Linked DNA regions of Homo sapiens: region 2 is linked to region 1. The links are contacts of gene promoters, found by promoter capture Hi-C in human tissues and cell types (Jung and others, 2019). All regions are on one chromosome and are shown on one strand. The core of a region is centred on a gene start or on the middle of the fragment in contact, and the rest is flanking DNA. Distances in the headings are between cores, read along the strand shown.

What was found. Contacts are between HindIII fragments. The study calls those that stand out against the background at their distance.
Region 2: a fragment that was not itself captured here is called in contact with the fragment with the promoter of SBDS in region 1 in 1 of the 25 tissues and cell types used here (IMR-90 fibroblasts).

Annotation. Positions count from the first base shown.
Region 1 is chr7:66,994,336-67,000,633 of GRCh38, reverse strand. SBDS (SBDS ribosome maturation factor) reads left to right here and starts at 5,048. Exons shown (of 5, transcript NM_016038.4): 1 at 5,048-5,344; 2 at 6,293-6,298. The coding sequence starts at 5,217. TYW1 (tRNA-yW synthesizing protein 1 homolog) reads right to left here and starts at 3,801. Exons shown (of 16, transcript NM_018264.4): 1 at 3,652-3,801; 2 at 2,439-2,569; 3 at 1,680-1,817. The coding sequence starts at 3,655. RefSeq lists a silencer at 3,931-4,050 and an enhancer at 5,615-5,664. The HindIII fragment of the contact is 8,933 bases long and covers 2,012-6,298 here.
Region 2 is chr7:66,805,944-66,812,770 of GRCh38, reverse strand. It overlaps RABGEF1 (RAB guanine nucleotide exchange factor 1), which reads right to left. Exons shown (of 9, transcript NM_014504.3): 9 at 1,307-3,885. The coding sequence ends at 3,487. It also overlaps the pseudogene GTF2IRD1P1. Among named protein-coding and RNA genes, the nearest start is that of RABGEF1, 69 kb to the right of the region's middle. The HindIII fragment of the contact is 5,505 bases long and covers 1-4,132 here.

The DNA.
Region 1 (6,298 bases), core at 3,799-6,298:
ATCTTGTCTCTACAAAAAAATTAAATAAATTTTTTGGCTGGGAGCGGTGCCTCACGCCTGTAATCCCAGCACTTTAGGAGGCTGAGGCGGGTGGCTCATCTGAGGTCAGGAGTTTGAGAGCAGTGTGACCAATATGGTGAAACCTCGTCTCTACTAAAAATACAAAAATTAACTAGATGTGATGGCAGGCACCTGTAATCCCAGCTACTAGGGAGGCTGAGGCAGGAGAATTGCTCGAACCCAGGAGGCAGAGGTTGTGGTGAGCCGAGATCACACCACTGCACTCCAGGCTGGGGGACAGAGTGAGATACCATCTCAAAAATAAAATAAATTTTTTTAAAATAGCTGTGACCTTGTAACACAGAAACAGGTAGCATCTAGATATAATTAGAGAATGGGACTGGGCACGGTGGCTCACGACTGTAATCCCAACACTTTAGGAGGCCGAGGCGGGCAGATTGCTTGAGCCCAAGAGTTTAAGACCAGCCTGGGCAACATGGCAAAACCCCATCTCTACAAAAAGTACAAAAATTAGCTGGGTATGGTGGCATGCACCTATAGTCCCAGATACTCAGGAGGCTGAGGTGGGAGGATGCCTTGAGCCCGAGAGGCAGAGGTTGCAGTGAGCGAAGATGGCACAACTGCACTCCAGCCTGGGCAACAGAGAGAGACCCTGTCTTTAAAAAAAGAAAAAAAAAAGCAAAAAGGAGAAATCAAAGTACATGCCAGATAATATCACTAAATCCTCACAGTGACCCTGAGATAACCATACTATTACCATCTGCAATTTACCATTTCACAGATAAGCAACTGAAGCTTAGATGGCACTACAGCCAGACACTGTTCCCCCGCAAAAAAGAGAGAGAATGGGAAGCATCTTTCAACTAGATATCAGCTGTATTTACTTTAGTGTCTACCTTTAACACTTTTAGCACTATTAGAAATCAAAACAAGTTTCATTACATAGATGTGTGACGTGAGGCCAGGTGCAGTGGCTCACGCCTGTAATCCCAGCACTTTGGGAGGCCGAGGCAAGCGGATCACCTGAGCCCAGGAGTTTGAGAGCAGCCTAGCCAACATGGCAAAACACCCATCTCTACTAAAAATACAAAAATTAGCCAGGCATGGTAGCAGGCACCTATAATCCCAGCTACTCGGGAGGCTGAGGCAGGAGAATCGCTTGAGGTGGAGGTGGAGGTTGCAGTGAGCCGAGATCGTGCCACTGCACTCCAGCCTGGGTGACAGAGTGAGACTCTGTCTCAAAAAACAAAATAAAAAATAAACATAGATGTGTGATGTGAAAGTCAGGCCCATATTGGAACTATTAGTGCCATCCTTTTTTCCCTATTCCCTACTTCCATACCCATGGGCATCGATAATGGACTCACAACTTTCTCTAGCCTGCTGAGGCAGAAGCAAACTTCAGAACAAAGGCCCCCTCAAGACACTGACCATCAGACACCACCAATCAGCTCTAACTGGGCACAGGAGATGAAACCTGCCTACCGTCACAGAATGGAAAAATATTTGAGGGGAAAAGGCTGGGAGAAAGAATAAAGAAGGTTAGATGACCAATTCAGTTCACTGCTAAAGGACAGTTCACTGCTAAAGTTCACTGCTAAAGGGATTTTCTTAAAATGTCAGGAAACCAAAGGAAAAGCATCATATAAATTTCTTACCTTCGCTGTTCCAGTCTGAGAACCATAAAAAATCTTCACTCCAGACACAAAGATGTCTTTCTCTTGAAGGGAGACATAACCATTTGTCATCAAATCCTGAGCTGCTTTTGGAACAGATTTTTCCTGTAAGTTCTTGCCCTTGAAGACAAATAATTACACAAAATCCATCAAGTCTAAATCGTTTCCCAACTTCAGCAGGGATGAAAATTAGCACAGATACTGACACATTTTATTTTTCTCTTAATCTGACACACTGTATTTTTCTCTTAATCTTTCTGGTTGTATTCCTCAAATATTAGCCCCTTGGTATAATAAGGTCCTTTAATAGGCAGGACCCACATTTTTAAGGCTCATGATTTCCTTTCCCTCCAAGAAAAAACTTTACATACTTTTATCCTATAAGGTATTTTAGTAGAATAATAGTAGGAACTTATTTTCTGATCCTTAATTAATGGAAAGAGAGGACTACTGACCCTTAAAGGTATAAAACAAATTTGTTTTTCATATAAAAGGTTCACTTTTCATTACAAAAATCTTCCTGTATCTTAAAAATGAGACACACCTATCAAAGAAAAAGTAAAGAACTTAATCCAAGATAACTTAGTCTCCAAAAACTTAGAGAAGAAATTTATTTTAGGCATTTCATTAAAATGTCTAAAGACCAAACACAAAAGTAATTAAAGGTTCCTTTTAGTATTTAAATCCTCTATAAAATCTGATGCCTAAATACTCCATTAAAAAAAAAATAACTCCACTTACCTGCGTCTTGATGACAATCTGGACACAAATCCAAAGGCTAATGCTAACAGCAAAGCCCAAATAAATGTAAAACCTGTTTATCCATAATGATATTAAAGGTGAGAAGAGGTCCCATGTATCCGCAGAAGGATCTAAATTTAAAATGACACACACAATTTCATTTAAAGCTACATATACAAAGATATCCATCCCAATTTTAAGAAGAAAATAAAACCAACCTTACATTCAACAACCCAGCTAAGAAATCTAATTTAAAAATCAACTGTTGGCCGGGCACGATGGCTCATGCCTGTAATTCCAGCACTTTGGGTGGCTGAGGCGGGCAGATCACCTGAGGTCAGGAGTTCGAGACCAGCCTGGCCAACATGGTGAAACCCCGCCTCTACTAAAAATACAAAAATTAGCCGGGCGTGGTGGCGCGCACCTGTAATCCCAGCTACTCGGGGGGCTGAGGCAGGAGAACTGTTTGAACCTGGGAGGGAGAAGTTGCAGTGAGCCAAGATTGCGCCACCGCACTCCAGCCTGGGCGACAGAGCAAGGCTCCATCTCGGGGGCGGGGGGGTGGGGAACAACTGTAATAAAAATAACACACTATGTAGTAACGTAATAAAATTATCACACTGTTAACACTAACTCAAAGAAAAAACAGAATATAAAATTGTATCTTCACTTCGAAATGAGCATTTAGAAGCAAGAGAAGGAACACAAAGTAAAAATACTTCATGTGAAATTAATTTTGTTTTGTTGTGCTTGCTCCATAAAAAAAGCTTAAGTAGTAAAAGCACTCTTTTTACTAACTGTACTTTCAAAGGCTCACGGTTAAACTTGTAAAAGATTCTCAAGTAACTGACCTTACACCTCATTTTTTTTTTTTTAAGAGAGATATGCAGGGACCTGGCTTCAAACGTTCAACCTGGGAGCAATTTCAAAAGTCGAGGCCTGAAATTTAGGCTTTACAGGTGCAAAAGTCCTAATACACGTAGGTAAAGTGGGAGGGGTAGTTTTCTGTCTAACCCCCTAGCCTCAAAAGGCAAAAGCCAGGTCAAAAGTAGGGATCAGTCCTCCTTGCTCTCAGCGGCGACTAGCCGGTGCTGTCAAGTGCAACAGTCTCCGAAGGAAAGGGACCGAGGACGCCACTCCGCCCGGAGAGGGTCTCAGTAAAACGTTTACCTCCCCTGCCGCCCCAGGGTCCTTGCCCGCCGAGTGCCCTTACCCATCCTCCTCAGAGCCGACAGGAGACTAGGATCTCGGACCTGGATAGCCCGATGATTCGCACTGGTACCGCGAGACGCACCGAGCTACCTCGCCGCGTTAGCGGCGTACCGAGTGCCTGCAGACCTGTGGGCAGCCATGACACTGCCAGGCCGGTCCTGATTGGTTCAGAGGACGAAGAGGTGGGCCCAGAGGAAAGCCCAGAGCTCCGGGAAAGGAAGCCAGTGCCCGGTGCGCTCTCGGCCCTGCTCCGATTGGCTCAGAGGGGAAAGGGGGCGTGCCCAGAAATAAGCACCTCCCAGAGTTCCAGGCGATGAAGGCGGAGCGCTTCCGCCTCCATTTGGATTGGCTCAGACTGGGAAAAGGCGGGCCCAGAGAGAAATGATTGGCATGGGAAAATTAAAAGAGGAAAGGAGCGGGGAGCGGGGGAAATGCTATGTGGGCCTGTTTGGATCTTAACTGAAATAAACCGACTGTAGAAAGGCATTATTTTTGGGAAACCCGAGGATGGACTCGCTATTAGATGATATTAAGGAATTGTAGTTAATCTCGTCGCGTGTATCTGTTAAGGGCTATAGGCTGAAGTATTTAATGCTGAAACCATATGATGGTTTCTTTAAAATACCCCCAACCGGCCGGGCGCTGTGACTCAAACCTGTAATCCCAGCACTTGGGAAGCCGAAGCGGGAGGATCGCTTGAGCCCAGGAGTTCGAGACCAGCCTGAGCAACATAGTGAGACCTCGTCTGTACAAAAAATTTTTTTTAATTATTTATTTAATTAAATTAGCTTGGCGTGGCCGCTCACACCTGTAGTCCCAGCTACTTGGGAAGCTAACGCTGGAAGATCGCTCGAACCCAGGAGGTCGAAGCTGCAGTGGGGCCATGACCCTGCCACTGCACTCCAGCCTGGGTGACAGAGTGAGACTGACTTAAAAAAAAAACTGTAAATAAAAAAGCAACAAAAAAATGAAAAAAGAATAAAACAAGGATGGCAAAATGTTGATAGCGGGGTGATGGGTACATAGAAGGTTCATTACACTTTTTTGTCTACATTTTATGTTAAAATATTTCTATTATAAAAGGGTGAGTAAATAAAAATATTTATTATAAAATAATTCTATTATAAAAAATATTTATATTATAAAGTGGGTCTGGCCCTTGAATTCCGCGGAACGAGGTGGTGCCAACGCTGTGTTTTAACCCGGTCACTAAACATCCGCGAGCATCCTGTCAGAGCTCTCAGCTCATTGGCGAAAGTAAATACGCCAAGGAAAAGCACCTCCCTTTTTGGGCGTGGAAAGATGGCGTAAAAAGCCACAATACGCAGGCGTCATCGCTCACTTTTCCCCTCCCGGCTTCTGCTCCACCTGACGCCTGCGCAGTAAGTAAGCCTGCCAGACACACTGTGACGGCTGCCTGAAGCTAGTGAGTCGCGGCGCCGCGCACTGGTGGTTGGGTCAGTGCCGCGCGCCGATCGGTCGTTACCGCGAGGCGCTGGTGGCCTTCAGGCTGGACGGCGCGGGTCAGCCCTGGTTCGCCGGCTTCTGGGTCTTTGAACAGCCGCGATGTCGATCTTCACCCCCACCAACCAGATCCGCCTAACCAATGTGGCCGTGGTACGGATGAAGCGTGCCGGGAAGCGCTTCGAAATCGCCTGCTACAAAAACAAGGTCGTCGGCTGGCGGAGCGGCGTGTGAGTAGCCCCCTCCCTCGGGCCTGGGCCTGGGCCTGAGCCGTCACCTCCGAGGCGGCCTGTCTCTGCCCAAGTCGAGTGAATGGGCCAGGCTGGGGTGTTGGCCGGGGAGGAAATGGAACATTCCTGCTGTGAGCATGAGACGTCGCTGTCCGAGCTTGGCGCCTAAGCCAAGGGTTTCTTCTTTATTTGGTTGGTTCGGATTGGGTTGTTGGTTTGGGGTTTTGTTTTGTTGGTGTCATAAAAGCTGCAGCCAAGAAATCTCGTAATTGTGGTCCTTTTCCTAGAATAATGATGGCTGAGAACCTAGTCTTACGAATACTGTCATAGTTGTGGGTACATCTGGTGTCATAGATCTCAGTAGCCCTAGCAGTTTAAAGTGCGTAGTGTCTTCACTGCTGCCATCTAGGGACTGGCATTCCGTGGCAGCAGCTGTCTGCACCCCACCCCACCCTTGTGTTTCTTACGTCCTCCCATGACATTTTTCTCCAGTGAGCAAATGGTAAGGCAAATACGGTTCTGAGTTTTGAAAATGTTCCCTCAGGCCGATGCGGGCAGTTCACTTGAGGCCAGGAGTTCGAGGCCAGCCTGGCCAACATGAAACCCCATCTCTACTAAAAATACAAAGTTAGCCGGGTGTGGTGGCGCATGCCTGTAATCCCAGTTACTCAGGAGGCTGAGGCGGGAGAATCACTTGAACCCGGGAGGCTGAGGTTACAGTGACCCGAGATCGCGCCATTGCACTCCAGCCTGGGCAAAAACAGTGAAATTCCATCTAGGGGCGGGGGTTGGGGGGTAAGAAAAAGAAAACTGCCCTCTACACTAAAGGTCATCAGGGGGATTTGTTGTGTCTTGCCGTTCATGTTGTTGCCATCTCGTATTTAAATGTAAATGCATGTCCAAGTTTCAAGTATATTCACATAGGACTTTCTCTCCTGCCCTCACAAGGGAAAA
Region 2 (6,827 bases), core at 131-2,630, 180 kb after region 1:
GACAACATAGTGAGATTCGTCTCCATAAAAAATTTAAATATTAGCTGGGTACAGTGGCACACACATGTAGTCCCAGCTACTCAGGTGGCTGAGACGAGAGGCTAGCTTGAGCCCAGGAGGTCCAGGCTGCAGTAAGTCATGTTCACACCACTGCACTCCACAGCCTGGGTTACGGAGCCAGACCCTATACCCCCCAGCCCAAAGAAAAACAAAAACAAAAAAGAAGAATTTCACGATGGCAGCTACAGAGCCCTAAAGTCCAAGCACAGGGCCCTTTGCAGTCACACCTTTGTGCTTCTCACTCAATTTTCTGTTTTTCGTATCGATCCTGAAAGCTCTTGTTCTCTGTAGGTGATTTATATTTGTTTCTATTGTAAATTGATTTTTTTCTCCACAATGTTTGCTAAGTGGTTAGTAATGGTATATAGGAAAATCATTTTGTACAGTTAGCTTTTATCGCTATTTTAGAATTTTCATCTTTCACTAATATAGAGATGAAATTCTATAGTTTCAATATAAATTCTCTTGGGTTTTCTTTTTTTACATTTCTGTTTTTCAAGACAGGGTCTCACTCAGGCTAGCATGCAATGGTGAGATCACAGCTCACTGCCACCTCAAATTCCTGGGCTTAGGTGATCTTCCCACCTTAGCCTCCCCAGTAGCTGGGACTACAGGTACACACCACCATGCCCAGCTAGTGTTTTTTTTTTTTGTAGAGATGTGGGTCTCACTATGTTGCTGACATTGCTCTCAAACTCCTGGCCTCAAGCATTCCTCCTGCCTTGCCTCCAAAAGCGATTACAGGCGTGAGCCACAACACCCAGCCTTCTCTTGGGTTTTCTACATAAAATAACCATCTACAAATAATAGCTATCATTTGTTCTAAGTTCAGACAACAACCCCATGAAGCAGTAATATTATTAACCCCATTTCACAGCTGAGGGATCTGAAACAAGAGATTTGTTCAGGGCCAATGAGCTAATAAGTAGCAGAATAAAATTCAAAACCAAATCCAAGCCTTCCAGCTTCAGAGTTCATGTCCTCACCAACAGACAATAATAGCTCTATATTGATTACATTAACTCCTTTTTTCTCTACTTTTATGTCTGTTTGAAGACTGAGTACCTTGGTAGAACTGCAAGAACAAGGTTGATTGATTGTGGTGACAGCAAATATTCTTGTCTTCTTAATTTTAACTGACAAATGTCTCTAATGTTTCATTTTTAGGTATAGCTTAACCAGAAAACCTCTGTAGCATGAGAATATTAATAATAATGTATATTTTCCTAAGAAAGAACCAAATCAATTTTTGGAAGAGGGACGGATTGTGAAACTTTATTGATAAAGAATTCCGTTCCAAAGGTGTATTCCAGTCACATTTACCCTACATAAAATACCAACATCTTCTTATTGCAAAAACAGAAACTCCGGCCGTTGTATTGATGCTGACTTAAGAGAAATAGAAGCCTCTATATAAGGCAAGAGTCCATACCAGAAGAATTCGACCAATATGAGATACCTCCAAAAAAATCAACTCAATAACCTACTTTATATGTAAGAGACCCAAAAAAGTCAGCTTTTGTGGGAAGTTGATATGCAGTTTATTGAACAAACAGAGTGTACAGTAACTAAACGAACTGTGTATTTCCAAAGGAATTAAGACCGCATATCTGGATTCACACCTAAAAGCACATAGAAAATTAAACCAAAGAAGGGCAAGTTTTGTACTAAAATCACTTGGGCCCAGGTTATTCTATAAGAAGATTCTCACTGGCATTTGATAGTAACTTATCACCTTCTGTGCGAGCTTGGGAACCAGCTGACTCAGTGAACTGCTTCCTGTCTTCAGTGCGTGATGACACAGATGTGTCAAGCTTAATAGATCTTATATGTAAATTTAAGAATAAGAAGTTTTATACCCACCCTGGTTTTATTCCAAAGTTACTGCTCTGCAATTTTGGGCTCCATCCTTAGGAAGATACTGGAAAAGCAAGAGAACCTTTCTCAGCTGCCTGTGTGAAGTGACGTTGTTCTAGAACGGTGCCCTGGGGCCTCATGCACGATTTCACAAGTATAGCTGCATAATCTGTGGATGTCACTGAATGGAAGAAGAATCATCAATGGTATATTTAGGTTATAGAAGGTTCCACTGAGATAAGAAAAGGTTCTACAATGCAGGTAGCTGTCAAGCCTCCTAAATATTTAACTCGTTTTAGTTAACATCACACTGTGCATTGAGTGCAAGATTCTTTGGTTACACCATATTAACCACCAGGAGGATAACTCCTGGTTTGTAAAAGACATCAGTGGTTCTTAACGGAGGGGTGATATGGCCCCAGGAGACATCTGACTATGTCTGGAGAGAATTTTTCACAGCTCTAGCGGGGGTGCTACTGGCACCTAATGGATATGGATGGCAGGAATGCTGCTGAACATTCTACCATGCACAGGGTGGCCCCACAACAAACACCTCTCAGGCCACTAATATGAATAGTCCCGAGGTTGAAATGTCCTGAAAAAGGTTCAGAAAACATGTCTAGACGTTTGCAAAGTCAAATGTATATTATGGAGGCTGCAAGGCGCCCCTTGCATCTCACAGCTGAGGGACCCCGTCACCTCTCACCATCAGAGGCCCATTCATTCCCGCCTTCCATTCCAGGCCCAGTGCCTGCTCCTTCTCACTGAAGAACTCAATAGAGATTTGCTGAATGAATGAGGGAAAAATAAGCTAGAAGCATAGTTTAAAGTCTTCCATCGACTACATTAAACAGCAATTTTATGTGGCCTAAACTTTATTCTGAACCTTAGTGGTGTCATAGTCTCTGACTATATAGAACCTCAAAGTTAAGGCTAACACGTTCTTAAAGATGGAGTGCACATCTTAAGGGGAGTTTGTCTAAACACTTCTCGAGTCATTTTAGTGGGACAAACCAAATAAAATGGTGCTAAAGGCAAACATTCAATATACTTCATTTTAAACTAAAAAATTAACATATAAAATGCCATGCACAGCAGACACCATTCTTTTTTTTACATATTTACAATTTTACATATTTACTTATCAATATAATTTCTATCTTTACAATTATAAAATTATTCCAAACTGTGGAAGAGTGGTACCATTTAATTTTCTTGAACATACACTTTGTAGCATTCATTTGTTTAATCCTTTAAAAGGCAATTATTTACCAAAACCACAGTGAATGCCAGAGGAAGCACATAGGAAAATCATGGAGGGAAAAAAGATTGAGACAAAATTTGCACACAAGCCTTAAATGAATCTGTATCAGTAACTCAAATAAGTAGTATTTTATTATTAACTAAGGTTCCCCTGCTAGGAAAAACGAAACAATCCCCATATACTGTACCTTTAAAAAATGCTGACATTTATAAGCAATTTAGTTACATTCTAGATCCCAATCAGTTGAGTGTAGTAAGGGCTACCTACAATTTAGGCTCAAATAAATACTCTCCACTAAATTGTGATCATCCTGCATAAACTTGAGGTTGCAGTGGTGGAGGAAGTTTATCATTTTCAACGTTTTCAGAGTCAATAGCTGCTAACGGTTGATTCGGAGGCTTAATTTCCAGTGGGTATTTCTCAACGATGTCTTGAACTTCTCTTGCAATTCCATCTGTCCAATCTATGAGGTCTTTTTCCAGTTTCTTGGCTTCATTCATGATCCTTTCTTGTCGTTCATTCAACTGAGACAAGAGATCCAAGTTCTTATACATTTGCTTGACGCCTAAGCAAGCATCAGGAGACCAACTCTCAGCTTCTTGCTTCCTGGGAGAGGTCTGGCCAGACATGTAGCGATCAAAATCCTCCTGACTTAGATTCAAAGACTGGGCGTCTAGCTTCTCAATGAAAGCCACAGCACAGCACTACAAGAAGAGGACGTTAATACAGTCATATTAGGAAAGCTATGCATACTCGAGTCGATTTGTAAAAATCTTTTGATCACAGACCATTTAAAACAGAAGCTAAAGTAAACAAAACAAACTCATGAACTTCTGTGTATTTCAGCCTCAAAAATTACCTACTCCTATCCCCGGTCGTGCTTCCTATACACTCCCAGGAGCTCCAGGGCCGATGTCTGGGTGCAGCCTCCCCAGGTGCACCATGAAGCCATTCTGTCTGAGTCTTCCCAGACCTGCTATCCCCACCCAGGATATAGTCCCCAAGTAGGTGTGGCACACAGACCTCTGATCCTCAAATGAATATTTTAACATCAAGTGGTTAAAAGAACAGCTCCAGACCGGGCCCGGTGCCTCAAGCCTGTAATCCCAGCACTTTGGGAGGCTGGGACGTGTGGATCATGAGGTCAGGAGTTTGAGACCAGCCTGGCCAACATGGTGAAACCCCATCTCTACTAAAAATACAAAAATTAGCTGGGCGCAGTTGTGGGCGCCTGTAATCCCCGCTACCTGGGAGACTGAGGCAGGAGAATTGCTTGAACCTGGGAGGCGGAGGTTGCAGTGAGCCAAGATCACGCCACTGCACTCCAGCCTGGGTGACAGAGCAAGACTGTCTCAGGAAAAAAAAAAAAAAGGAACAACTCTGAAGTGACTGAACCTGAGTTCACTGTCACCTCTTTCACTTAACAACAACAGTGAGTGACCGTGGGAAAGTTACTTAAGCTCTCTGAGGTTTCTGTACCTGTAAATGGGGGGAAATACCACCTAGATTTATTGTGAGAATTAAACAACATAACATGTCACGTGCTTCCGAGAGGCCTGCAGCGAGCAATGAATACACGGTAGCAATTATTAGTACAGACATGGCACTGCAAATGCCCAATTCAACAGACATCTGAGCCAGGCGTGTTGGCTCGTGCTTGTAATCCTAGCACTTTGGGAGGCCGAGGTGGGAGGATTGCTTGAGACCAGGAGTTCAGACCAGCCTGGGAAACAGTCGGGGTAGAAACCATCTCTAGAAAAAAGGAATAAAGAAAAAGAAAAATCTGATTCATCTGAGTAGAACGGAACACCATCTGGCTCATGGTGTGTGTGGAGTTGCTGTGGCCCCTCTGTGACCTGGAAAGAGGAGGTGATTCTAACTCCTCACTTAGGTGAATGGAGACATGGCATTGCCACTAAAAGGAATAGAGAATACTGGAAAAGAAACAAACATCTGAAGGGGAAGTAGCTCTGAACAAATTATATTTGAGGTGCAATACAAGTGTAAGGTCAAGACAGGTGACCCAGAGCTGCAGGCCATCACTGCACAGTGAGTGACAGCTCTGTGACAGAGAAGATGGTGCAGGAAGAGAGATGCAGAGACAATGGAGTCCCATGGAATGACACAATTCAAGGTGGAAGTAGAAGACACAGACTTTACAAAGAGACAAGGAAGTAGTGGAATTGTGGAAGCCAAGGAACAACAGAAGTTGCAGAACAAAGGACTCTTGGAGAGTGCTATGAGAAGCGAAGGAAGATGAAGACTGTGAGTGCCCGTGGGGTTCGTCAGCTGGAAACTTTTTACTTTTGCCAGAGCAGTTTCATTGGAGCAATGGGTGTAGGAGACAGACTCTGAGTCAGGCAAGAAGAGGACAAAGAGAGAAGGCACAAATGTACTTAAGGCTGCAGGCCAAGGGCACTAGAAGCTGCTAAGTGTGTGCAAGCCAGCCACCTCTACTGTCAGTGACCGTGGCTACGCTCAAACACGTCCTGGTCCTCCTCCACTTCTCTCAATACCTGCCATGTCTCCACCTTCACACTTCTCAGGGACTTCCAGGTTGTCTGACTCGCTTTGGATAAAGAACTGAATCCAAAACGCTCTTCCCTCGTAGGCAAGTGTATGTTTCATTTATATTAAGAAATATGAGGCCAGGTGCGGTGGCTCATGCCTGTAATCCCAACACTGTGGGAAACTGAGGTGGGTGGATTGCTTGAGGTCAGGAGTTCGAGACCAGCCTGGCCAACAAGGTGAAACCCCGTCTTTACTAAAAATACAAACATTAGCCGGGCATGGTGACACACATCTGTAATCCCAGCTACTTGGGAGGCTAAGGCATGAGAATCACTTGAACCCAGGAGACGGAGGTTGCAGTGAGCTGAGATCACACCACTGCATTCCAGCCTGGATGACAGAGGGAGACTCCATCTCAAAAAAAAAAAAAAAAAAAAAGGATATATGAGTACTTCTAATCTCATTCTATATGGGCCACTTAAACTTTTTTCAGTACTACAGATTAAACCACCATGTGCCTGGGAGGATGGAAAACAGTGTGAATAAAGGTAAAAGCATCATTCTGATCAAGAGCACCAAGTCCCTCCACCTATAAATCACACTCCCAAGATGCTGGTGACTACAGTAACATGTAGCTGAACACAATGCTGGAGGGTGATGAGTGATGGGGGCAGGTCCAAGTTTGGAGGAACCTGAAGCTTATACAATTTTGGGAACCTACTTACAGGAAAAGGAAGAAGAGTGACAAATACAAAAGTAGGTATAAATGTGAATACATACTTAGAACCTAGAAATAAATCATGACATATTTTTAGAGACTGAGAGATTCACGTACCTGTGAGACTTTTTTGGCAATTTATCAGAAATACTCGCAATGCATCCTGGCTTCCCCTCCCCACCTCTTAGTTCCCAGGCTCTCAACACAGAAAACCAAGTCCATACGCTGCCCCAAGTCTCCAAATTCATTAGCTTTACAGTACATTCCCTCTAAAGCAAATAAGCAGAGTTTAGTAGGAAGAAAAAGGAAGAATTCAGGTCAGGAGTGGTGGCTCATGCCTGCAGTTCCAACTCTTAGGGAGGTCAAGGTGGGAGGACTGCTTGAGTCCAGGAGTATGAGACCAGCCTGGGCAACACA